Linked DNA regions of Homo sapiens: all the other regions are linked to region 5. Evidence: promoter capture Hi-C in 16 types of primary human blood cells and fetal thymus (Javierre and others, 2016). All regions are on one chromosome and are shown on one strand. Each heading gives the region's core, a stretch centred on a gene start or on the middle of the fragment in contact. The rest is flanking DNA. Distances are from core to core; before and after follow the strand shown.

Region 1 (3,871 bases), core at 774-3,273, 450 kb after region 5:
TATGTATATATATGACATGGCAGGAAAATTGGGTCACTAGTGGTTTTTACTTCTTCGTTCATTTGGCAAACATATGAATAGACTGATGTGTGCCAAACACTGTTCCGAGTTCTGGGAACTGAGGAAAGAAACAAGCTATCTGTTTTCATGGAGCTCGTATTTTACTTGGAGGATGGAGAGGCTGACAATAAACTTGTACAAATAAATACAAACTTCAAGTAGTGGTAATTGCCAAGGTGAAAGAAAAGAGAGTAATGGTATAGAATGACAGTCATTGGGTAGCTGCTTTAGATGAATGGTAAGTGAACATGTTTCTGAGAAAGTGATATCTGAGCTGAGAGGCAAAGGACGAGAAGGAATCTGTCATGTGAAGATCTGGGAAGCAGGTGTACTAAGCAGAAGAGCAGCAAGTACAAAGACTGTGAGGTAAGGGATGTGCTCGGGGTGACTAAGTAACGGAGAGAAGACCAGCGTGACTAGAACATAGTGATCAAAGTGAGTAATGTTGGAACATAAGTCAGAGACATTGGCAGGAGGCCAGTTTTTATGGAAGCCAAATTGTCTAGTGCCTTGTAGATAGTGGCAAGGAGTTTGGATTTTATTCTAGATGGAACACTACCAGAATATTTTTTCTTTTTTGAGACAGGGTCTCACTGTCACCCAGGCTGGAGTGCAGTGGCATGATCTTGACTCTCTGCAACTTCTGCCTCCTGGGCTTAAGTGATCCTCACACCTCATCTTCCCCAGAAGCTAGGACTACACGCACCACACCTGGCTAATTTTTGTATTTTTTGTAGAGATGGGATTTTGCCATGTTGCCCAGGCTGGTCTTGAATGCTGCCCACTTTGGCCTCCCAAAGTGCTAGGATTATAGGTGTGGGCCACCGTGCCTGGCCTATCAGAGTATTTTCAGGCAGAGAAAAGCATAAGGTCTTACTTCTAGCATAAAAGGAACATTCTGGCTGCTATATAGAGAAGGGACTGTAGAGGACAAGAATGAAAGCAGGTTGACTGATTAGAAAGCATTGCAGCATTATAGGCAAGAGCTTATGATGGCCTGAACTAGAGTGGTAACTGTGGAAGAGATAAATGGATGAATTCAGAATATTTTTGGAGGAAAAAGGTGACATGATTTACTATTGGATGTGGGCATGAGGGAAGGAAATTAAGGATGACTCCTGGATTTTTAGCCTGAGCAACTTTATAGCTTTTCATGTTTGTTTTTGAAATGGGGAGATTTGATGGGGTGGGGGTTTGGGAAATTAAGAGTTTTTTATTTTTATTTTTTGCTTTTTAAAAATTGTGGTGAAATACACATAACATAAAATTTACCATTTTAACCACTCTTAAGGGCATTAAGTACATTCACATTGTGCAACCATCACCATCATCCATCTGTAGAGAACTCTTTTCATCTTGCAAAATTGAAACTCTGTACCTATTAAACACTAACTCCCCACTCCCCTCCTTACCCTAGCCCCGAAAACCCTTCTATAATACAGAAGTCTCTATGAATTTGACCACTCTCATAAGTGGAATCACATAGTATTTGTCCTTTTGTGACTCGCTTTTATTGTCACTTAGCATAATGTCTTCAAGGTTCATCCATGTTGTAGCATATGTCAGAATTTCCTTCCTTTTTAAGACTGAATAATATGCCATTATATATGTATACTACATTTTGTTTACCCATTCATCCACTGATGGACACTTGGGTTGCTTCCATCTTTTGCCTGTTGTGACTAATGCTGCTGTGAACATGTATGTACAAGTATCTATTTGAGTACTTGCTTTTAATTCTTTGGGTATATACCCAGAAGTGGAATTGCTGGATCATGTGGTAATTCTATGTTTAATTTTTTTAAGGAATTGCCATACTGTTTTCCCCGGTAGCTGTACCATTTTACATTCCCACCAACAGTGCACAAGAGTTCCAGTTTCTCCACGTCCTCGCCAATACTTGTTATTTTCTGTGGTTTTGCTGTTGTTGTTGTTTTGTTTGTTTTTGTTTTTTTACAGAAGCTATCCTAATGGGTATAAAGTGGTATTTCATTGTGGTTTTATTTGCATTTCCCTAATTATTAATTATGTTGAGCATCTTTTCATGTGCTTATTGGCAATTTATATATTTTCTTTGGAGAAATGTCTACTCAACTCTTTTGCCCATTTTAAAATCAGGTTTTTTTTTTGTTGTTGTTGAATTGTAGGAGTTCTTTACATATTTGGGATATGAACCACTTATCAGATACATGATTTGCAAATATTTTCTCCCATTCTATGCCTTTTCACTATTGATTATATCCTTTTACGCACAGAAGTTTTACATTTTTGATGTAGCCCAATTTTTCTATTTTTTCTTTTGTTGCCTGTGCAAGAGTTTTATTTTAAATGCAATTTTGGGATGTCTATTAGACATCCAAGTCAAAATGTCAAATAGACGGCTGGATATATGAGTCTGAAGGTCATAAAAGAGATCAGAATGAGATATAAATTAGGGAATCATTCACATATAGATGGTATTTAAGGCCATGGGTCTGGACAGAATCACCCAGGAGAGAAGTCATATAGGAACACATAGGTTTCCCTAGGGAATACAGTCATCTTAGAGTAAAATTCCATCGAAGGAGATCAGGAGGTCTTGGCTGAGTTAAATTTGGATAATATAAGTTATTAACTATGTTAATGTGTTCTAAGCTAGATGCCAGGTTAAGGCAGAAATTAGGAGGTCCTGGGCAAGTATCAATTTGCTCTGCTATTGTATTATTACAAGAATAATACTAACAATAGTACATGACCTCATTTCATCCTCACAATAGCTTTACGCGATTGATATTCTTGTCTTCACTTTACAGGCAAAGAAACAAAAGAGAAGTAAAGTAATTTACCCAGTTGCTATAGTTAGCATGTGGTAGGTCCATATTAGAGGTCTGGTCTGTCTGCATGATGGTTAATTTTATGAGATAGCAAGTAAAACATTATTTGTGTCTGTGTCTGTGTCTGTGAGGATGTGTTCGGAGAGGTTCACAAGCATTTGAATCAGTAGACGGAGCAAATAAGGTCCGCCCTCACCAATGTGGGCAGGCATCATCCAATTCACTGAGGACTCCTGCTCACACAGAACAAAAAGTCAGAGGATGTGCCTATAGTTCCAGCTTCTTGGAAGGCTGCGGCAGGAAGATGCTGGGGCCCAGGAGTTTGAGGCCAGCCAGGGCAACATAGCAAGACCTTTCTCTTTAAAAAAATTTTTTTTGGCTGGGTGCAGTGGCTCATGCCTGTAATCCCAGCACTTTGGGAGGCCGAGGCAGGCGGATCATGAGGTCAGGAGATCGAGACCATCCTGGCTAACATGGTGAAACCCCGTCTCTACCAAAAATACAAAAAATTAGCCGGGCGTTGTGGTGGGCACCTGTAGTACCCGCTACTCAGGAGGCTGAGGCAGGAGAATGGAGTGAACCCCGGAGGCGGAGGTTGCAATGAGTGGAGATTGCACCACTGCACTCCAGCCTGGGCGACAGATCAAGACTCCGTCTCAAAAAAAAAAAAATTTTTTTTTAAGGCATAGGAAGGGCAAATTCTCTCATTCTCTCTCTTCTTGAGCTGGGACATCCATTTTCTCCTGCCTTCAGGAAATCAGAGCTCCATGTTCTTGGATCTCCCGACTCTGGGACTTACACCTTACCCTTTTCCCCTCAGTCTTTCAGACTTGGACTGAATTACACCATCACCTTTCCTGGTTCTCCAGCTTGCAGATAGCATGTCATGGGACTTCTTAGCCTCTGTAATCATATGAGCCAGTTCATATAGTAAATCTCCTCCTATTGATCTATACCTATATCTGTAATCCTATTAGTTGGGTTTCTTTGGAAAACTC
Region 2 (4,495 bases), core at 1,267-3,766, 470 kb after region 5:
GACATTATCTGGAAGAATCATCCAGAGTTTACTGTATGACGAGCATTTCTTGATAGCAAGGTTCATTTTGGTGTCAATCGTTACAGTCAGTCCATTTCAGTGGGAACAACGAATTTCTCCACAGGGTCTTATTTTTCTGTTTTTCACTTCACCAAATGGGGTAGATATTTTTTCAGAATGCAGTTATTAGAACCTTGGGATTTTCTTCTGTCTCCATTGAGTCTCTTGTTTTTTTCCCAGATCTGAACCTGAAAATAAAATAGATGCTAAGGAAAATTAAATATTCAAGACTTTCCTCCTCAAAATGCTCCATCCAAATTGACATTGAAAAATATTTCTCCAATCAATGAACAAGTAACTATTTGAACTCTAATGAGAACCTCATGGTGTAGATCTAATATTTTATGCTTTTAAACATCTGAGGCTACTTTCTTAATTAAGCATAGAAGCCAGAATTTAAACTCTTTCACAGTTTTCCCAAGCAAAGGATAGAGAGGGAGGCATGAAATTCTTGGCAATTAAAGTTGATACTGAAGTAGTTCTATCATTAGAAGAAAACAACTTATCAACAATGGGCACTTTTTGCTATAAATGTTCTGTCAGGGATCAGAATTAATTCATATGCAGAGTTACCTTTATCAAGGCCAGGCACTGGGAACACTTTATCTTTTATAACCTCAAAATAGCCGTATGAAATATCCCATATAGCAGATGGGAATACTGAAGCTTAGTGAATATTAAGTGATATGCCCAAATTTTTGCAGTAGATTTGGGATTTAAAGCCAGGCAGTGTTACTCGAAACTCTAAACTTCTCCTAAATACCACTAATCTTTTAAATGTTTGCTGTGGTGTCATAAAAAGATACTGGTCTTTGTCCCTGGCTCCTAACATAGAGATCCTAAATCTCTTATAATTTCTGGAGTGATAGGGAGTGATAAAAGCTTCTTTTGTTCTAATGAGGCAACCCTTGGCTGGGCCCTTAGATAGCTTCAGGGTGGGGGCTGGTCACCAGAAGACTAAGCCTGGATTAGAAGCCTGGAACCTCTGGGGAGAGGAGAGAGGCTGGGGATAGACTTAATAATCCATCATGCCAACATGACTAAACCTCCATGAAAACCTCTAAATGATGGGGTTTGGAGAACTTCCGAGTTGGTGACCACATCCACATGCCAGGAGGGCAGTGCACCTTAACTCCGTAGGGACAGAACCTCTGCACTCAGGACCCTTCCAGACCTCTCTGTATGTACCTCTTCATCTGGCTGTTCATTTGTATCCTTTGTAAGAAACCGCTAGTGGCCAGTGTTCTGAGTGCTGTGAGTCATTCTAGCAAATAATCAAACCCAAGGAGGGGATTTGTTGGAACCCCAGACTTGGTAGCAAAGTCAGAGAGAAATGTGGGTAACCTGGGGACCTGACATTTGTGAGTGGCAAGTGAAGCAAGGCAGTATTGTGGGACTGAGTCTTTACACCTGTGGAGTCTGATGCTAAATTTAGGTATTGTCAAAATTGAACTGCATTATAGGACACTCAATAGGTGTCAGAATTGGTTTGCGTCAAGAAGAAAAACCCTTGCGCAATCTCATAAGCCAAAAAAAGATGTTGAATTGTTTTATTTTTGCATTTCCTTATTAATGTGGACAAATAACTTTTTTCATGTATATATTGGACACTGAAGTGACTTCTTCTGTAAACTGTCTGTTCTTGTCCTTTGCTGGTTTTCCTACTGAATTGTTTGTCTTTTTCTCACTGGTTACTATGAGCTTTTTGTATATTAAGTATATTAGCCTTATGTTTAGGTTTTGTGTAGCAAATATTTTCTCCTGGCTTATTGACTTTTGTCTTTGTGGGTGGTTTCTTTTTGCCTTGCCAATAATTTAAAAAATGTACAATCAGATATATCAATCTGTTCCTTTATGGTTCTTTGATTTTATGTTATGCTCAGTAAGATCTTCTCTAAGGTTATAAAAATGTTTGTTTCCTCCTGGTATATTTATGATTTTACATTTTTAGGCCTAAATTTTTTAACTGTCTGGATTTTATCTTGATGTGTTTTTTTTTTGGAGACGGAGTCTCGCTCTGTCACGCAGACTGGAGTGTAGTGGCGCGATTTCGGCTCACTGCAACATCCACCACCCTGGTTCAAGCGATTCTCCTGCCTCAGCCTCCCGCGAGCTGGGATTACAGGGGTGCGCCACCATGCCTGGCTAATTTTTGTATTTTTAGTAGAGATGGGGTTTCACCATGTTGGACAGACTGTTCTCGAACTCCTGACCTCAAGCAATCTGCCTGCCTCAATCTCCCTAAGTGCTGGGATTACAGGTGTGAGCCACCATGCCCAGCCAATGCATTTTTTAAAGAGACAACTTTTTAATTTATTCAAAATGTCTAGCTGAATGTTCTAATACCTTTTACTGAATAACTATTCCCCCTTGACTTTGCTACTTTTTATTACATACTGAATTTTTATATTTTCTTGGGTTTTATCCTGAACTCTATCCTATTCCATTGGTTTCTATTCCTATACCATTATCACATTGTTTTAATTACTATTGCTCAACAATATGCTTTATTACTATTATTATTATTTTTGAGACAGAGTCTAGCTCTGTTGCCCAGTCTGGAGTGCGGTGGCATGATGTTGGCTCACTGCAACCTCCACCTCCCGGGTTCAAGCAATTCTCCTACCTCAGCCTCCTGAGTAGCTGGGACTACAGGTGTGTGCCACCATGCCCAGCTAATTTTTGTATTTTTAGTAGAGACAGGGTTTCACCATGTTGGCCAGGATGGTCTCGATCTCTTGACCTCATGATCCGCCTGCCTCAGCCTCCCAAAGTGTTGGGATTACAGGCATGTGCCACCGCGCCTGGCCTATTATTTATTTATTTTTTTTGAGACGGAGTTTTGCTCTTGTTGCCCAGGCTGGAGTGCAGTGGTGTGATCTCAGCTCACTGCAACCTCTGCCTCCTGGGTCAAGCAGTTCTCCTGCCTCAGCCTCCTGAGTAGCTGGGATTACATGTGACTGCCACCACACCCAGCTAATTTTTTGTATTTTTAGTAAAGATGAGGTTTCACTATGTTGGCCAGGCTGGTCTCAAATTCCTGACCTCAGGTGATCCACCTGCCTCAGCCTCCCAAAGTGCTGGGATTACAGGCGTGAGCCACTGTGCCCAGCCAACAATATGCTTTATTATCTGATAGAGCTAGTCTCTACTTATTACTCTTCTATTTCAGAACCTTCCTAGCTATTCTTCCATGCTTATTCTCCCTAAGGCATTTTGGTATCATTTTGTTAAAAGTCCTACTTACCATTTCACTTTCTGCATCTGCTCTAAGGTTTCTGGAAGAGTCATTCCCAAACTTTCAGGGAAAAAAAGGGTGAGGATTCCAATCAGGACAGTCAGACTACCCATGACGATGTAGGGCAGCATTCTGTTGTAAGCACCTGTAAAGCCCGGGACATAAGAACATCAATCAGATAGGAGGACTCTCTGGGCACTCTTGAGCATCATTTTGTGAAGTTGGTGAACAGTATAAGAGAATGGATTTAAATCTGAACATTTTCAGAGAAAAAAAAGTAAGCAAAATATCAGTTTCTTTTTGGCAGATGACATTGTGCATGTCTATAATCCTTTTGCATTATCATAAGGCTTTTCATTCTTTCCTGTCAACTGGTATCCTCTAAGCTACTACTCAGTCATGTGTGACAGATGTTCCTTTGGTAGAGTTCTTTGCCTACCAGAGTTCTCCTCTTAAGGTGGAGGTAATTGGAAATGGGGGATGGGAGGACATCAAGGAGAAGGAGGTTAACCAGGATGTTTCAGGGATAGGTTTTGGCTATGATAGGTCTGGCATGACTCTGCTTTTGCCCAAACTAGTAGGCTGCAGTGGAAAGTTAGGTCCACAGGGCTATGAGACTCAAAAAAAAAAAAAAAAAAAAAAAAAACAACTAAGTATTATGTTCACTTCAGATTAAATCAGTAAATTATAAGTATCAGGCACATTCTGTAAAGGCACTGTGTGCCTGGATTTGGCTTCTTTTTGGAGCACTTACATGTCTTGGGTTAATATGTAATCTCTTTGTGAAGCTTTACTCACACAGGAGAAAAACAGATCCTCATCTTGCTTTGCCCCTGTATACATACAGAGCTTACAGAGGAACAGCACACCCATGGATTTCATTTGACCCAAAACATAAGGAAAATATTGTTATTGCAGCTTCTCTGAGGCCTCTGTGTCACTAACAGGAGTAGCTGTGTGGAGTAGGAGACTCTTGGACTCCCTGTCTTATGTACCAGTGTCTGACCACTGGACCATCTGAGCATAGTTTGAAATAGTTTGAAAGTACAGGGAAGGACAAAGGGAAAAATAACACCACTCTGTATAATCTGCTATCTCAGGTGTGGCACAGGGCAACTGTGCAGAATATGTTTGTTAGGAAAATGTTTCTCTTTCTCTGTAAGGGTTTGGATTATACCTTTCCTGAGAATTCATACA
Region 3 (3,954 bases), core at 645-3,144, 270 kb after region 5:
AAGGTGTCAGGGGGAATCAGAGAGAACGCTCTCATATTCTCTGGGAAGAGAAAGCTCCTGCCAGAACTCAGCTTCTTTTCTGAGAATACCATTTTAAGAGCACTTTGACCAAGCCTATTGTGATTCCTACTCCCGAAAATCTCACTCCCGATAGATTTTCTGAAGTGAGCCAAACTTCTGCAGTCTCAAGGAAACATTTCTCAAGGAAAACATTTCTCAAGTGCGCAAATCAGACACATCTAACCAAGAGTCCAAAACTTCAGCACAAACAAAACCAAACGTGGTACAAGAAGGCCGCCACTGAAATCCAAGACTGTCTTTATCTTTCCAGTGCAGAGCTGGGATTGAGTATGTATGAAAGGTGTGTCTACCTCCCAGCTGCCTCTACTTCTCCTACACAACTGCACCTAGCTTTGGAAAACTGTTCTGGGCAACAGTTTGTGTTTGGTACCATCTGTTCTTGACGCTCAAGACAGGCCTGAAGTCAGGCTTCTAGGCTGCAACATAGAGCCACTCTGGGATGCTCACTGAAGCACTCTATTAAAAACAATGAGCCACATACACCTCCATCATATGTGTTCAGGCCAGGGAAAAAGGAAGTGTGTGATCTAGGAGGGGGCCTCATTTGTACCTTTCTGGGATTACAGGTCTGAGCCTAAGGAACAAAGGCTGATTCCCCTAATTTCATGGCCCGCCCAAGGTGTGAAAGGACACCTCCACCCTTATGGGACATAAAGGAGAGGACACATCCATGTATTGTGTATCTGTGACAGATATTTATTGGTTGCCTTCCTAGAATCTGTGTCCCCCTTACTACTGGGACCCCACATTTCTAAGCTATGCAGTTGAGGTAGGATTAGGGTCACCTCTAGCTCCAGGGAGAGCCAATCAGTATATACTACACCCTGGTCACAGTTCAAGGATGAACATGTGACCCTTGTCAGAAAGAGACTGAATTTGAAAGCTTTTGATTAAACAATCAGAAAAGCACAGCTTGCTTTTTCCTGCTGCTCATGAACAGAATACATATAGATCCAGGAGTCTGGACATCATCTTGAGACCTCAATGGGAAAGGTGCCCAAGGATGGAGTCAAGGAAGAGTCACTGAAGCCATCAAAATGTAAAAGAGCCTCCATTCCTGGACTGTTTGGTTCTATGAGCCAATACCTTCCCTCTTTATCTTCAACAACTTTAGGTTAGGTTTTTAGTCACTGGCAACAGAAAGGATCCTAATCAAGACCCCAGTGAACAGAACTCGACCCTGCCAAGGCTTGGCAGTTTCCATTTCAATCACTGTCTTCCCACCAGTATTTTCAATTTCTTTTAAGACAGATTAATCTAGCCACAGTCATAGTAGAACATAGCCGATCTGAAAAAAACATTCCCAATATTTATGTATTTTAGCATAAAATTCTGTTTAGTGGTCTACCTTATACTTTGTTTTGCACACATCTTTTAAGAGGAAGTTAATTTTCTGATTTTAAGAAATGCAAATGTGGGGCAATGATGTATTAACCCAAAGATTCTTCGTAATAGAAAATGTTTTTAAAGGGGGGAAACAGGGATTTTTATTATTAAAAGATAAAAGTAAATTTATTTTTTAAGATATAAGGCATTGGAAACATTTAGTTTCACGATATGCCATTATTAGGCATTCTCTATCTGATTGTTAGAAATTATTCATTTCCTCAAAGACAGACAATAAATTGACTGGGGACGCAGTCTTGTACTATGCACTTTCTTTGCCAAAGGCAAACGCAGAACGTTTCAGAGCCATGAGGATGCTTCTGCATTTGAGTTTGCTAGCTCTTGGAGCTGCCTACGTGTATGCCATCCCCACAGAAATTCCCACAAGTGCATTGGTGAAAGAGACCTTGGCACTGCTTTCTACTCATCGAACTCTGCTGATAGCCAATGAGGTAATTTTCTTTATGATTCCTACAGTCTGTAAAGTGCATAGGTAATCATTTGTGATGGTTCCTTTACTATATATAGAGATCTGTTATAAATAATAAGATTCTGAGCACATTAGTACATGGGTGATAACTACATCACCAGCAAACATTCTGTTAAAAGTTATGAATGCTGGTGTGCTGTAAAAATGATTGTATTTCCTTTCCTCTCCAGACTCTGAGGATTCCTGTTCCTGTACATAAAAATGTAAGTTAAATTATGATTCAGTAAAATGATGGCATGAATAAGTAAATTTCCTGTTTTAAGCTGTAAATCATTAGTTATCATTGGAACTATTTAATTTTCTATATTTTGTTTTCATATGGGTGGCTGTGAATGTCTGTACTTATAAATATGAGGAATGACTTTTTATCAAGTAGAATCCTTTAAACAAGTGGATTAGGCTCTTTGGTGATGTTGTTAGTTTGCCTCCCAAAGAGCATCGTGTCAGGGATTCTTTCCAGAAGGATTCCACACTGAGTGAGAGGTGCGTGCTAGTCTCCGTGCAGTTCTGACTCTTTCTCACTCTAACGTGTTTCTGAAAGTATTAGCAACTCAGAATTATATTTTTAGAACCATGATCAGTAGACATTAAAATATATAACAAATGCCCTATATTAATAATTTCTGCATACTTAAATAATTATGACTATATGATGGTGTTGTATGCATTTGAATATGTCCTGGTCATATTAAAATGTAAAATATATAGTTTTATTAGTCTAAATAGAATAAAACTACCAGCTAGAACTGTAGAAACACATTGATATGAGTTTAATGTATAATGCATTACACTTCCAAAACATTTTTTTCCAGTTACATAATTAAGTTATATCCTTTATAAAACTCCTCAGTAATCATATAAGCTTCATCTACTTTTTGAAAATTTTATCTTAATATGTGGTGGTTTGTTGCCTAGAAAACAAACAAAAAACTCTTTGGAGAAGGGAACTCATGTAAATACCACAAAACAAAGCCTAACTTTGTGGACCAAAATTGTTTTAATAATTATTTTTTAATTGATGAATTAAAAAGTATATATATTTATTGTGTACAATATGATGTTTTGAAGTATGTATACATTGCAGAATGGACAATGGACCAAATTTTTATACCTTGTCTTGATTATTTGCATTTTAAAAATTTTCCTCATTTAGCACCAACTGTGCACTGAAGAAATCTTTCAGGGAATAGGCACACTGGAGAGTCAAACTGTGCAAGGGGGTACTGTGGAAAGACTATTCAAAAACTTGTCCTTAATAAAGAAATACATTGACGGCCAAAAAGTAAGTTACACACATTCAATGGAAGCTATATTTGTCTGGCTGTGCCTATTTCTATGGAATTGACAGTTTCCTGTAATACCTATTGTCATTTTTCTTTTTTCACAGAAAAAGTGTGGAGAAGAAAGACGGAGAGTAAACCAATTCCTAGACTACCTGCAAGAGTTTCTTGGTGTAATGAACACCGAGTGGATAATAGAAAGTTGAGACTAAACTGGTTTGTTGCAGCCAAAGATTTTGGAGGAGAAGGACATTTTACTGCAGTGAGAATGAGGGCCAAGAAAGAGTCAGGCCTTAATTTTCAGTATAATTTAACTTCAGAGGGAAAGTAAATATTTCAGGCATACTGACACTTTGCCAGAAAGCATAAAATTCTTAAAATATATTTCAGATATCAGAATCATTGAAGTATTTTCCTCCAGGCAAAATTGATATACTTTTTTCTTATTTAACTTAACATTCTGTAAAATGTCTGTTAACTTAATAGTATTTATGAAATGGTTAAGAATTTGGTAAATTAGTATTTATTTAATGTTATGTTGTGTTCTAATAAAACAAAAATAGACAACTGTTCAATTTGCTGCTGGCCTCTGTCTTAGCAATTGAAGTTAGCACAGTCCATTGAGTACATGCCCAGTTTGGAGGAAGGGTCTGAGCACATGTGGCTGAGCATCCCCATTTCTCTGGAGAAGTCTCAAGGTTGCAAGGCACACCAGAG
Region 4 (3,855 bases), core at 886-3,385, 400 kb after region 5:
GAAACCTCTTCCCCATAGAGTTTCAGACCCAGAAGATTTTACAAGTGCCTCCTACTAACTTCCAAGGAGCAGAAAATCTCTATCTTAATGGAGTTGCTTTAGAAAATAGAAAAAAAGAGAAAACATTGCCCAATTTGTTACTTGATTTTGAAATGTTAAATATGGACTGTACAAATAAAGAAAAATACAGGATAGTTTCACTTATAAACATAGATGTTAAACTCCTAAATAAAATATTATCTAATCAAATACGAAAGTGTATTACAAATACATCATGATAAAGTAATTCACCACATTAGTCGATTGTGGAAGAGGTTACTAGTGCTCACCAGTCTCTCGTTCTTTTCCTCCTGGGAACACCACCAGGCTACATTTCCCAGCCACCTTACAATTAGGTGAGACCCATGAGACTAGTCCATGCCAATGGAATGTGAATGGAAGTGCATCTAATTTTCTGGCTCATGAAAACAGCAGCATTTTCTCTATTTTCTTTTTTTCTTTCTTTGTTTTTTTTAGACGGAGTTTAGCTCTTGTTGCCGAGGCTGGAGTGCAGTGGCGCGATCTTGGCTCACTGCAACCTCCGCCTCCCGGGTTCAAGCAATTCTCCTACCTCAGCCTCCCAAGTAGCTGGGATTACAGGCATGTGCCACAATGCCTGGCTAATTTTGTATTTTTAGTAGAGACGGGGTTTCTCCATGTTTGTCAGGCTGGTCTCAAACTCCCGACCTCAGGTAATCAGCCCGCCTCGGCCTCCTGAAGTGCTGGGATTACAGGCGTGAGCCACCGTGCCCGGCAAGAGCAGCATTTTCTAAAAGCAATCAGTACTCAACACCATCCTGCTGAGGTAGGGCAGCGGCGGACTCCATGTTTTGAAACTTAGGAACTTAGACCATCTTTTGTCAAATTCAGATGGTTTTCTCAAAGTAAAGATCATTCAAGTTTTGTTTCAGTAATGGGCCGTATGATCAGATCTGTGTGATTAGGCTGAATTCATTATTATTGAGACAAAAATTGAGTTAAAGGGGATTCTTGGTATTGGCCTGCAAAACCTGTCATAACTTAAATGTAAAGTTTCTGATGATTTAGTCACTTTACTCTCAGCTCTTAGCTCTTTCACTCACCTGTCCTTGTTCTACACAACCTGCCTGATGGGTAACTTGAATACATATTTTCTCTCTTCAGGGGATGGGAACGCCCTAAGGGCAGGGGCTGTTTCCACAGCCCTGGGGTGGAACCCCCTTCCTGCATACCAAGAATGAGTTGGCTATACTTGACGAAGGGCAAAGACAAGGTGGCACGCATCTTTCATGCTTCTGCTGGCAGATGCAGTGGACTGGAAATTTCCTGGTCTGGGAAGGACTCGGTCTGTGAGTGCACCTATCCCTGACATCTATGCTAGCCCCGGGATGGGGGCCCCAGCAGAGTAAGGCCCTGACTTCACATGGACAGGGCCAGGGCAAGGGGGCCACATCCTGGCCTAGTTGCTCTCCATGCCCGTGATCAAGGGAGATGAGCTGCCAGCTTGCTCGGTCAAGGAACACTTGGAAGGCACTCCAAGTGCCCCCAGGTGCACCAGATCTAGGAAACTTAAGCAAACTACATGAGGTATGGGGTGGGGCCCAGTGGGAAAAATGAGTCTGACAGGTCAGAGGGAGTAGATTATGAGCTCAGGTTAGGCATTCTGTTCAGCATTTTACGTACACCCTCCCACTTTTGATTTTTACCAACACCCAGGGAGGTCGGTGCTCTACAAAAGGGAAAGGCGTGCTCAGGTGGCCCGACTTGCCACGGTTCCAGCTCGACCCCGGGCTGCTAGCCCCTTGGCACGCTTGTCTGAGGCCTCCCAGGTCTTCCAGCCTGGCCTGGAGGCTCAAAGCCACGAAACCCAAGGGTGCCGCTTCTCAGGCCCTCCCCGCCCCCACGGCAGAACCCCTGACCCTGCCCGGGTCAAACGCCTGGCGTCGGGCCCGCCGGGTCCGCAAGGAGGAGCCCGCGAGGCGGCCGCGAAGGGGCTGTGCTTACCTCGCCCGGCGCGGGTTGCGGCCCCAGGGCCCGCGCTCCAGGCTGGCGGCCGCTGCATTCTGCGCCCCTCGCCTGAAACGGCAGCTGCGCCAGTCCTGGCCACGACCGCTTTCATTTTCCTCAACGACATCGGCAGGAAAGCGAAAGCGAAACCCTCCGGGAGGCGGGACCGGGGCCGAGCGCGCAGTGAACGCGGGGCGCGCGGCGGGCGCGGGCCGGCAGCCAGAGGCGGGGGCCCCGGGCTCGGGTCTGCGCGTGGCCTGGCCCGGTGGCGTTCGGGGTGGAGCTGGGCCAGCCGAGTGCCCGAGAGCTAGTCCGCCACGCACACCTGCCTCGGCGGGACCCGGGCCCGGGCTGGGCGGGAGGCTGGGCAGGCCCGCCGTAAGTGGAAAGGCGCCCGCGGCGCTTCGGCCGACCGGGACAGGTTCCTCCATCTGCCCTTCATTCAGCGTTTACTTGGGCCTGTGGCTGGCAGCCGGCCCGGGACCTGACCGCTGGCGGCGCCTCGGGCTCTGGCCTGAGGAGGCAGATGGCAGCCTGAGCAACTGGGACCAAGCCTCTGAGGAGTCCCCGTTGGAGGGGACTTGACCATGAGGTACCAGGCATCTCATCTGGGGTCAGCGGAGAACCCAAAAGTCAATGACGTCGGTGAAATGGGGGTCCCTTCATCCGATAAGAGAAACTGGAACAGCAAGCCTATGGTTTGGACTCCCTGGTCTAAGCGGTGCCCATCAATATCTAAACATTTAGAGATTCCAGGTTTCAGTGTCTGGCCGTCTCTTACTGTCAGTGATTTGGGGCAAAATATTCAAGTAGTTAGACTTAATTACTTCCCCTGTGGGATGGGAATAATAATAATCATACCTACTGCCAGAATTTTAGGAATGAACAATAGAAGGAAGAAAATACTTAAAATTTTCTGACAGCCTCTAAGTGGGTTCCTTGAGGGCAGCAACCAAGTCATTTACCTGGATGCTTGATAGACATTCTCTAATGGCCAGTCCATCAACTTGGAGCTATCTCCATGATAACAGGTTAGTTGTCAAAGTTTGGACAATATTATCTGGAGTTTAAAGACTGAGGAAGCCCTGCAATTTTTTTTGGAAGGTGTCTGAAACTTAGCCTGACAATTAGCCCCCACAATTATGCCACGGAACCAGGTTTTTGTTAGAGTGGAGCATGGCCACAACGTTTGATGGACATTCCTACAGCGGTGTTCAGCGCTGGCCACTGAGGTCTGAAAATACTTTTGCAAGCATTTCTATTCACTTGCTTTTAGAAAACATTGGTAAGACACCATACTCCAAACACAGTTTGCCCTGTCTGTACGTTTGTTGCAAAGCAAACATAAAAGTTTTTGCCATAGAGCAAACACAGAGCAGTCTGTTATAACTGGAACAAGAAACCAAAATGAGCTATTAAATCTGCCCAGAGTCACTTTGGTTTACCTGTTTGTAATTTGGGCACATTCCCTGCAAGATGGAGGCCCTGGTCTGTGACTGATGTAGGGGCTTGTATGTGTCCTTGCAATAGTTCCCTCAAGAGCAGGTGGGAAAGTGGGGCAGGCCAAATGATGACCTTAGAAAAACAACAGCCTGTTTCTCTGTCCAGAAGATGCTACTTTTAGTCTGTAGTATGAAGGAAAAAGAAAAAACAAAAAAGGCAAGCCTTGGAGCCTCTTCCTCCTTATAGGACAATTCTTGACTCCAAGATAGCAAAGTAGAGTTAAATCTGCTTCTGCATAAAAACTATGTTTGGGAAGATGAAGATCAGGAAAAGACAGGAAGAGATGTAAGCAGATAAGCCAAATCCTGGTTACCTTTTATAGACATC
Region 5 (3,864 bases), core at 720-3,219:
CAGGTTGTTGGAGGCAAACTGGGCACTAGACCAGCTAAAGGCCCCGGAGTAGGTCGACGAGAGATTTCTGAGAAGGCTGGCAGACCACCGCGGATCTTTGTCTTTTTACGTGGAGCCATGGGCGAGGCGCTCAAGAACTTGCTGAAGGAGCTCGACTTCTTCAAGCCTCGGGCCAGGTCCTGGAGCATGAGGTCGTCAGCCAGGACGCCCAGAAATGCACTGGTGGTGGAACTGAGGATGGTGGCGGCCACCTGTACGGGGCGCCTGGCAGCAAGACTGCCACTTCCACCACCGGTCGCATCTGGCTCCGTGGTGCCTCGCAGGCCTGGATCGCCAAGAAGGCGGCGCAGCGCGTACGAGGAGCCGGGCCGCAGGTACTGGTAGGCGCGACGCCCGCTGTGATCACGCACGTGCACCTGGGCACCCAGACGCACCACCAGCAGCACGGCAGCGTCCTCGTGGCCGTGCAGTGCAGCCAGGTGCAGCGGCGTGTAGCCGCCGTGGGAGCGTGCGTTCACGTCGACTGGTGCGCCACTGCGCCGCGCGACCTCCACCAGCTGCAGCGCCATCTCGCCGTCGCCGCTCTTGGCGGCCCAATGCAGGGCCGTGAAGCCAGACATGAAGTCGCGCTTGGCCGCCAAGCCGCGGTCGCGCAGCAGCAGCCCGTGCAGCTGGTGGGTCCAGCGGCCCCCGGCAGTCCGCACGAGCCACTCGTGCTCGGACGGCTCCAGGGGCACCGCGGACGGCGGCGGCGCGGCGGGCAACTCCTCGGCGTCAGGGCTCAGCAGACGCGGGCCGGCGCGCGACAGGCGCCTCAGGTGCGGGGAGCGGCCCGGGCCCAGGCCGAGGCCCAGACCGGACTCTTCCACCGAGAGCCGCCTCAGCAGCAGAGGGGAGCTCCGCGGGCTCGGCTCCTCCGACAGCTGCCGGCGCAGGCCGGGCTCCTCCGCCCGGAGGCGGAGCGTGGCGGGGGCCGGGACGCAGCGCACCGGCAGCATACAGGGCTTCTGCTGCGGCGGCCCTTTCGCTGCCCCGGGCCCGGGCTCCGCGTCTGGCGGATCAGAGCAGGGCGATGCCGCCTCAGAAGGGGCCCTAGGCGGTGGGGCCGCGTCTGCGGAGGGTCTCTCGGTGGCCTGGGCTAGCTCAAGGGCTGGAAGCGGTGGGTCGGCGGACCGCTCCCCGGGCGGCTGAGCGGGCTCGGAGGCCGGCCCCCCCGGGGTGTCCTGTGGCTCTGTTGGCAGACCCAGGTCCCCTGGCGGCTCCACTGGCCGCGGCACCCGGACCAAGGGCGGAGCTCCCGGGGCAGAGGCGCTCCGCGGCAAGACCGTCGAAGTGGGTTTCGACGGCTGGGCCGCTGCCCCCGGGGGGCCGAAGGGTGCGGGCTCGGGCTCCGGGGGCCGGGGCTTCTTCCTCAGCACCACGAACTTGACGCCGTCGAGCTCCTTCACCACCGCCACGTTGTTGACGAACTGCTTGAAGCGGTCCCTGCGGGCGGCGCGGCCCCGCGGGTCGCCGGCATCGAGCAGCGGCTTGAAGCGGCTCAGCAGCTCGGAGTTGCGCACCTTCCCGCCGTGCTCCTGCAGGAAGCCCAGCACCGCCGCCTGGCTCACCCCGGCAGCCGCAGCGGCGGCGGCGGCGGCCAGCGCCATGGTGGGGCCCTGGGTTCCTGGCTCCCGGGGCGGGTGGGCGCCGCGTCGCCGCGGGACGCGCGGGAGCGGGGTTCCGGGAGGCGCGGCCGCGCTCACCTGGTGCCTTCCCCGCGGCCAGCCGGGCGTGTCCCCGAAGCTGGACCTCGGTCGCGCCAGTGCCGCTGGGCCGGGGCGTCTCGGGGCGAAGGGCGCCGGGGGCCGCGGGGAGCGCCCACCCCCAGCGCCCCGCCGGGCCCCGGCCTTCGGGGTAGGTTTCTGCCTTTGTATTCTGTCCAATGGGCGCCTGCTTCCATCCCCCGCGCCGCGCTCGCCTTACAGGTGACAGCTGCCCCCGCGATGCAGAGGGAACCGGAGCAGAAATTCCCGCCGCCCCCCGCCCGCCCCAGAATTAAAGGCGCAGCGCTCCAGCTCTGGTCTCGGTTGCTAGGTGGGTGTGTTCCCTAGGGACGCCGCGGTCCGCCAAGGAGGAATGGATTTTTATTCCTTTAATAAACATTTAACCACTGCAAAACACCAAGCGATGATTTCAGAACAATCTTTTTTTTTTAAAGGTCGTCAATACCACTCCAGTTTTTTTTTTTTTTTACTGTGTTTCATGCAGGAAAACGGCTTCATGAGATTTACAGCAAAACCAATTCACTCTGCGCGGCAATGCACGTTACTCTAGGTTTAGAGAGACGTTTTCAAAAGCAATTTTCTCATGGTAAGAGAATACATTTTCACGTAGAATTTGGGGTATAAAACCACAGGAAACATAAACATAACAGGAAAACATAGAGGAAAACATAAAGAAGGAAAAAAAATCACTTGAAATCACCATTAACATTTTGAAATATCCTCTCCCTGTCTCCCATGTGTGTATGTATGTTTATGCTTTAAAGTAAGAAAGCAATGCGGAGTCATGCCATGGTTTTAAACCTTCGTTTGTTCCACAGATAGGTATTGAGCACGTAGTTTGTGCCAGGACTTTTTTTTTTTTTTTTTTGGCTAAGATGCGTCAGTTAGCAAGACAGATTTAAAAACCCGTGACCTAGTGGGGCTCATGTGTTGGAGGAGAACAGAAGCATATGGTGAATCCGAAAACTATATGATATACTAAATACATGCTATGAAAAAAGCACAGCGGGGTATAACGGATGAGGGTCAGGTTGCAATTTTGATCTGGGCAGTCAGGATAGTACTCGTTGTGAAAGTGACATTTAAACAAGGACTTGAAGGAGATCAGGGAGTTATGTAGACGGGGAAGAGGTTTCTAGTTGAGGGAACTGCCTGGCAGAGGTAGAATCAGTTCCTTAATTTAAAATGCAGGCCGGGCGCGATGGCTCACGCCTCTAATCCCAGCACTTTGGGAGGCTGACTTGGGCGGATGATCTGAGGTCAGGAGTTCGAGACCAGCCTGGCCATCATGGTGAAATCCATCTCTACTTAAAAATACAAAAATTAGCTGGGTGTGATGGCACGCACCTGTAATCCCAGCTACTCCGGAGGCTGAGGCAGGTGAATCGCTTGAACCCGGGAGGTGGAGGTTGCAGTGAGCTGAGATGGCGCCACTGCACTCCAGCCTGGATGACAAGAGCAAGCCCTGTCTCATAAATAAATAAATAATTGCAGTACTACAAATATATCTAACCAGAAGCAGCATATTGTAGTAGCTGAGAAAACAAGACTCTGGAGTCAACATTCTACACTTGAGTTCTGGCTCTACCTTGGGCAAATGCCTTGACTTCTCTGTGCCTCAGCTTTCTTGTCTGTAAAGGAATGAGGAAAATAGTACTTACCTGCTCAGATGGTTGAGAGAATTAAGTGAGAAAATAAACACAAAAGACTTAGCATAATGCTTGGCTTACAGTAATCATTTGAATTATTATTAGTAGTATAGTCACTACTATTAGTATTACTCAAAAGGAAAACAGAAGACTAAAATGTAAAGGGTCCCCTTTCCCCAATCCAATCCCCAGGGGCAATTTCTGAGTTCAGCCCTGTCCCCAAGATGCAAACAATTTAAACATTTCCCCCTCACTTTATATTGTGAGCATTCCTCCCAATGACAATAGCTAGTCTAGTCTTCAAAAACATACAACTTTTAATGATAGCATCAAATAAATGTAGTATTATACTTTGTTTTCTTGTTCTTCATTGTTTATATTGTTTCTAGTTTTTAATTCTTATAAATGATGCTGTTGATATATAAGACTTTGTGCACCTTTCTGAGTAA
Region 6 (4,104 bases), core at 1,605-4,104, 430 kb after region 5:
TACACACTGAGTCAAGTGCACTGAAGGATCGGCATGCAGGTTAATGAGAGGCACAAGGAAGGAAGCTACCCTGGACTGGGGGTAAGGGTTGGGGAACTGGACATTCAGGGAGGGTCTCCTTGATCATGGGACACTGAGATGGGAAAAAATAGTTGACGATGGGGGATTTAAGGTGTAGGGACCAAGCTCTCAATGATATTCACAGTATAGTGCGGAAGACCAACATTAATCCTATAATAACACTTTTTTTCCCCCAATTTCTGGTAGACGTTTTAAAGGAAAGTCATAAGGAACTAGGGATCCTGAATTAGCCAGCATGGTTAAAGAAGGCCACAGGGGGTGGGTTGGGGTGGGTGGGGAATGCTTCAGACTCTGAGAAGACCACACACCCCCATGGCTGGAGGGGGCATGGTGAACATGAGGAACCAGTGTGGTTGGCATCAGGCGTGCAATTCAAGAGTACAGTGGTGGCTAGGAGGCAAATTGCACAAGGTCTTGCAACTATGTGGAAGAGTTTGGTGTTTTTCCTCAATAAAAGAGGTTTTTTTCTGTTGTTGTTGTTTTTTTCCATCACTTGGGGTTCACTGGCATCTAATGAGTAGAGGCCAGATATGTTGTTAAATATTCTAAAATGCCCAGGAAAATGCCCTAGAACAAAATTATTTGGCTCAAAATGTTAATAGGGTCGAGGTTGAGAAACTCTCGCCTGGTAGTAGACTCTACTTTCCCCTGCATGGTTTTTTTAACAAGCATGTTCTATATGCCAACCAAGGGGTGGTTCCTAACCACAAGGCAGGCTGGTATAATCTCTATGCCCTTTCCCTTCCTAAGAGCTCCCTGGGATGGTAGGGAAGAGACAGATCCAGAGAACCCTTTACATAGCACCAGTCCTTGGCAGTTCAGGGTTGGGGCCAGAAATGTTTGCTTTTAAAGTCTGTCAACAAAATGGCAAACACACACATACCTGGAAACAGGACACAGCAGTCTACTTCTTCCTAGAGTTGTGCATCTCTTACAAGTCAGACGCATAAAGATAACTCAATAGTGTTACATAAAGGGCTTTGACAACCCAGGAGTACTTTAATTGCTCTTGAATTTCAGACATATTCATAGGCCAGAAAGAAGGTGAAACCTTTATACTATATAAAAAGTTACATTGATGTCCTAGACAAGTTAGGGCATGAATTGATTGCTTTCAGGTAATCTACTTAGCTTAGGTTTTAGAACTGGTTTACTCAGAAGTAATGCACTCAGAAGCTGTCCATCCCACAGGGCCCTGGGCCTTCCAAGGGGGCACAGACAGGCTTGAGGCAGGGCATTGGGAATTGAAGGCAGGGGCTGCAGGCAGAACAGCCATACTTTTAGCCACTTAGGGTGTATTTCATTTACTAGACTTAAATTATCCTACTTTAATGAAAGTTCTGTGGCCAAAATGTTTAGAAAGGTTTGAAAAACACTATATTAGCCCTTCTGTAGACTAAAGTGGTCCTAAACACACTCACAAATTTTGTTTCCAGTTTCCCTGGGAATAGACCTTTTGGAACTTAAATGCTTTCCTCAGGTAATCATTGTGTCACATGGCAAGAAGGTTCTTAAGCTGACCCATGACACAGCTGACCCAGAAAAATACACTGCATTTCTACTCTGAACTTGGGGTATCTCCTTTTCACATCAAGGGCATTCTTCTGAGCCGCAGCTGTCACTTAGCTCCGTGAGAAGGAATCTCCCATGTCCACTCAGGTGGCCTCTAAGCATAGCACAATCCTCCCCCAGTTCCCCCCTCCCCTCCCCACTCCCCTCTCCCCAGGCAACCTCATCCCTATCTGGGGCTCTGCTGAGGGTTCTATATGCTGACAAATCCTACATGTGTTTCTCTAGCCAAAACCTCTCATGCAGTACCATATCCATACAGCCAGCTTCACACTCTACTTCTCCACTTAGGGGTCTCATAGTCACCCCAAATTTAGTACACACAAATTGAACTCAATATCCATGAACGTGGTTCTTTTCCAGCATTCTCTGTCTTAGAGAAGTGTACCTTCATTCACCCAGTTACTCAGGCCAGAAAGCTTTCTTCCCCCAATTCCGACATCCAGCCCATCGGCAAGTCTTGTTGATTTTACCTCTTACCACTTCCCTCCATTTCTACCACCGTCATGCTAGGCCATGCCACCATCATCTCTGGCATGAACTACTGTGACAACCTTTTAATTGGTCTCTCTACAACACCTTTTGCTTCCCTTCAATTCTTTCTTCACAAGGTTGTCAAAGCATCTTTAAAAAAAAAAAAGGACAAATCTGATTGTCACACTATTGCTTTAAAAAATCTCAGTAGCCCACCGCTGCTCTGTGGCTGAAGCCCAAAGTCCTAACTGTGATCCACTAAGCCCTGGTTGCTCATCTGCCCAGGGCTCTGCCTGCCTCTCCCCTTCATCTTAACACCACTCTCCGCACCTCTACCACACGGACTTTGTCCTGCTCCCATGCCTTTTCATGAGCCCCGGCTTTAGCACTTGCTATTCTCCCTGCCTGGATGTTCTTTCTCCTCTCTACCCCTCAGCTGGCTACTTTCGACTCATCTTCCCACTCTCGCTCATGCTTCACCTTCTCAGGGATGCTGCCCCTGACCTCCTCTGTTAGACACTCCTGTGGCACCCTGCACTTCTCTGTATCTCTTACCATGGCCAAGGACAACAACGACTTCCTCACTTGGTTGTTTAATACATTCCACCTTGCTAGAAAGCAAGTTTTAGGACAGCAGGGACCTAGAACAGTAGTCCATACACAATAGAGGAGCAAGACTACCTGGGTCCAAATCCTAACTCTGCCACTTGCCAGCTGTGAAACCCTGGGCAAGTTATTTAATCCCTCTGTCTCACTTTCTCCATCTGTAAAGTAGGAATAATAAACAGGTTAACCTGCTTTTTAAAAAAAAATCTGGCTGGGCAGGTGCAGTGGCTCGCGCCTGTAATCCCAGCACTTTGGGAGGCCGAGGTGGGTGGATCACCTGAGGTCGGGAGTTTGAGACCAGCCTGACCAACATGGAGAAACCTTGTCTCTATTAAAAATACAAAATTAGCTGGGCATGGTGGTGCATGCCTGTAATCCCAGCAACTCGGGAGGCTGAGACAGGAGAATCTCTTGAACCTGCGAGGCAGAGGTTGCAGTGAGCCGAGATCGTGCCATTGCACTCCAGCCTGGGTAACAAGAGTGAAACTCCTTTTCCAAAAAAAAACAACAACAATAAAAAATATCTGGCTGCGCATGGTGTCTCACGCCTGTAATCCCAGCACTTTGGGAGGTTATGGAGGGAGGATTGCTTGAGGCCAGGAATTAAAAACCAGGGAAGATGCTGGGACTCCTTTCCACCGGCTAACCCACCGATTTGTGGGGTGTTCTCACATGTGTCATGTGGCCAAGGACTTGCTGAAGGCTGCTACTCTCTTCACAGTCTTCTCTGACAGACCCTGAAGCTCCAGGGAAAGAAGACACAACATAATGGACCCCTCTAAGAACTTCATGAAAGCTACGGACCTCTCTCCAAAAAAATGCTCACATGTAGTCTCTAACATTGTGCATATAATTTCGAGGGGTTTGGGATTCTCTAAGCCGTTAATGTTTCCTTGAGTTAAAAGCTTTAGAATTATACAAATAACCTGCTTATAAGAAATGGATCAAAACACTATTCTCCCTCCTGTCATAAAGTAAATGCCAAAACCACAGGCCACTTAGCTAAGGGGCATCAGCCTTGTGGACAAAAGAGTTCTGCTTTTCATACCACTAGTGGCTGGTGAGAGCTCCTTTCACTTTGCAGAGAGAATGCTGGTCTTCTTGGGACTACAGAGGCAGACACCGTGGCACTACTACAGATCTACAATCTAGCACATGTGCATGTGTGCATGATGTCAACCTCTCCCATGCTCAGGGGCATGACAGAGTCACAGTGACCCAGGGGAGGCAAGCCAGGCTACTGCAGAAGTGAATCATGGCATATTACCTAGTCAACCGGGTCACAGATACATTCAGCTTAGACAGCTCAGGTTTCTTTACTTAGCAAGAATTACGGAGTCAGATTTGTTGGCTCTTCTTACTAGGCATGGAGTC

What was found. Contacts are between HindIII fragments. The CHiCAGO score rates a contact against its expected background, and 5 or more counts as called.
Region 1: a fragment that was not itself captured here is called in contact with the fragment with the promoter of SOWAHA in region 5 in 5 of 17 cell types (monocytes, total CD4 T cells, naive B cells and 2 more); the score reaches 7.5 in monocytes.
Region 2: a fragment that was not itself captured here is called in contact with the fragment with the promoter of SOWAHA in region 5 in 1 of 17 cell types (neutrophils); the score reaches 5.6 in neutrophils.
Region 3: a fragment that was not itself captured here is called in contact with the fragment with the promoter of SOWAHA in region 5 in 6 of 17 cell types (endothelial precursors, erythroblasts, M2 macrophages and 3 more); the score reaches 7.5 in endothelial precursors.
Region 4: a contact is called between the fragment with the promoter of CARINH here and the fragment with the promoter of SOWAHA in region 5, in 11 of 17 cell types (megakaryocytes, M1 macrophages, endothelial precursors and 8 more). The highest score is 8.1, in megakaryocytes.
Region 6: a fragment that was not itself captured here is called in contact with the fragment with the promoter of SOWAHA in region 5 in 17 of 17 cell types (monocytes, endothelial precursors, M0 macrophages and 14 more); the score reaches 21.2 in monocytes.

Annotation. Positions count from the first base shown.
Region 1 is chr5:132,360,156-132,364,026 of GRCh38, reverse strand. All of the region lies in intron 3 of MIR3936HG (MIR3936 host gene), which reads left to right. Among named protein-coding and RNA genes, the nearest start is that of MIR3936, 3.5 kb to the left of the region's middle. The HindIII fragment of the contact is 7,264 bases long and covers 1-3,871 here.
Region 2 is chr5:132,339,513-132,344,007 of GRCh38, reverse strand. It overlaps SLC22A4 (solute carrier family 22 member 4), which reads right to left. Exons shown (of 10, transcript NM_003059.3): 9 at 3,308-3,443; 10 at 1-248. The coding sequence ends at 173. All of the region lies in intron 5 of MIR3936HG (MIR3936 host gene), which reads left to right. Among named protein-coding and RNA genes, the nearest start is that of MIR3936, 24 kb to the left of the region's middle. The HindIII fragment of the contact is 3,144 bases long and covers 945-4,088 here.
Region 3 is chr5:132,541,300-132,545,253 of GRCh38, reverse strand. IL5 (interleukin 5) reads left to right here and starts at 1,732. Exons shown (of 4, transcript NM_000879.3): 1 at 1,732-1,919; 2 at 2,128-2,160; 3 at 3,111-3,239; 4 at 3,345-3,809. The coding sequence starts at 1,776. The coding sequence ends at 3,443. The HindIII fragment of the contact is 1,855 bases long and covers 967-2,821 here.
Region 4 is chr5:132,409,209-132,413,063 of GRCh38, reverse strand. CARINH (colitis associated IRF1 antisense regulator of intestinal homeostasis) reads right to left here and starts at 2,135. Exons shown (of 4, transcript NR_161242.1): 1 at 2,023-2,135. RefSeq lists silencers at 1,837-2,126, 2,197-2,496 and an enhancer at 2,737-2,786. The HindIII fragment of the contact is 5,230 bases long and covers 1-3,855 here.
Region 5 is chr5:132,811,407-132,815,270 of GRCh38, reverse strand. SOWAHA (sosondowah ankyrin repeat domain family member A) reads right to left here and starts at 1,969. Exons shown (of 1, transcript NM_175873.6): 1 at 1-1,969. The coding sequence starts at 1,649. RefSeq lists enhancers at 1-324, 325-825 and a silencer at 865-934. The HindIII fragment of the contact is 6,134 bases long and covers 1-3,864 here.
Region 6 is chr5:132,378,623-132,382,726 of GRCh38, reverse strand. The region is part of intron 2 of SLC22A5 (solute carrier family 22 member 5); the gene reads right to left. Among named protein-coding and RNA genes, the nearest start is that of MIR3936HG, 11 kb to the right of the region's middle. The HindIII fragment of the contact is 1,566 bases long and covers 2,072-3,637 here.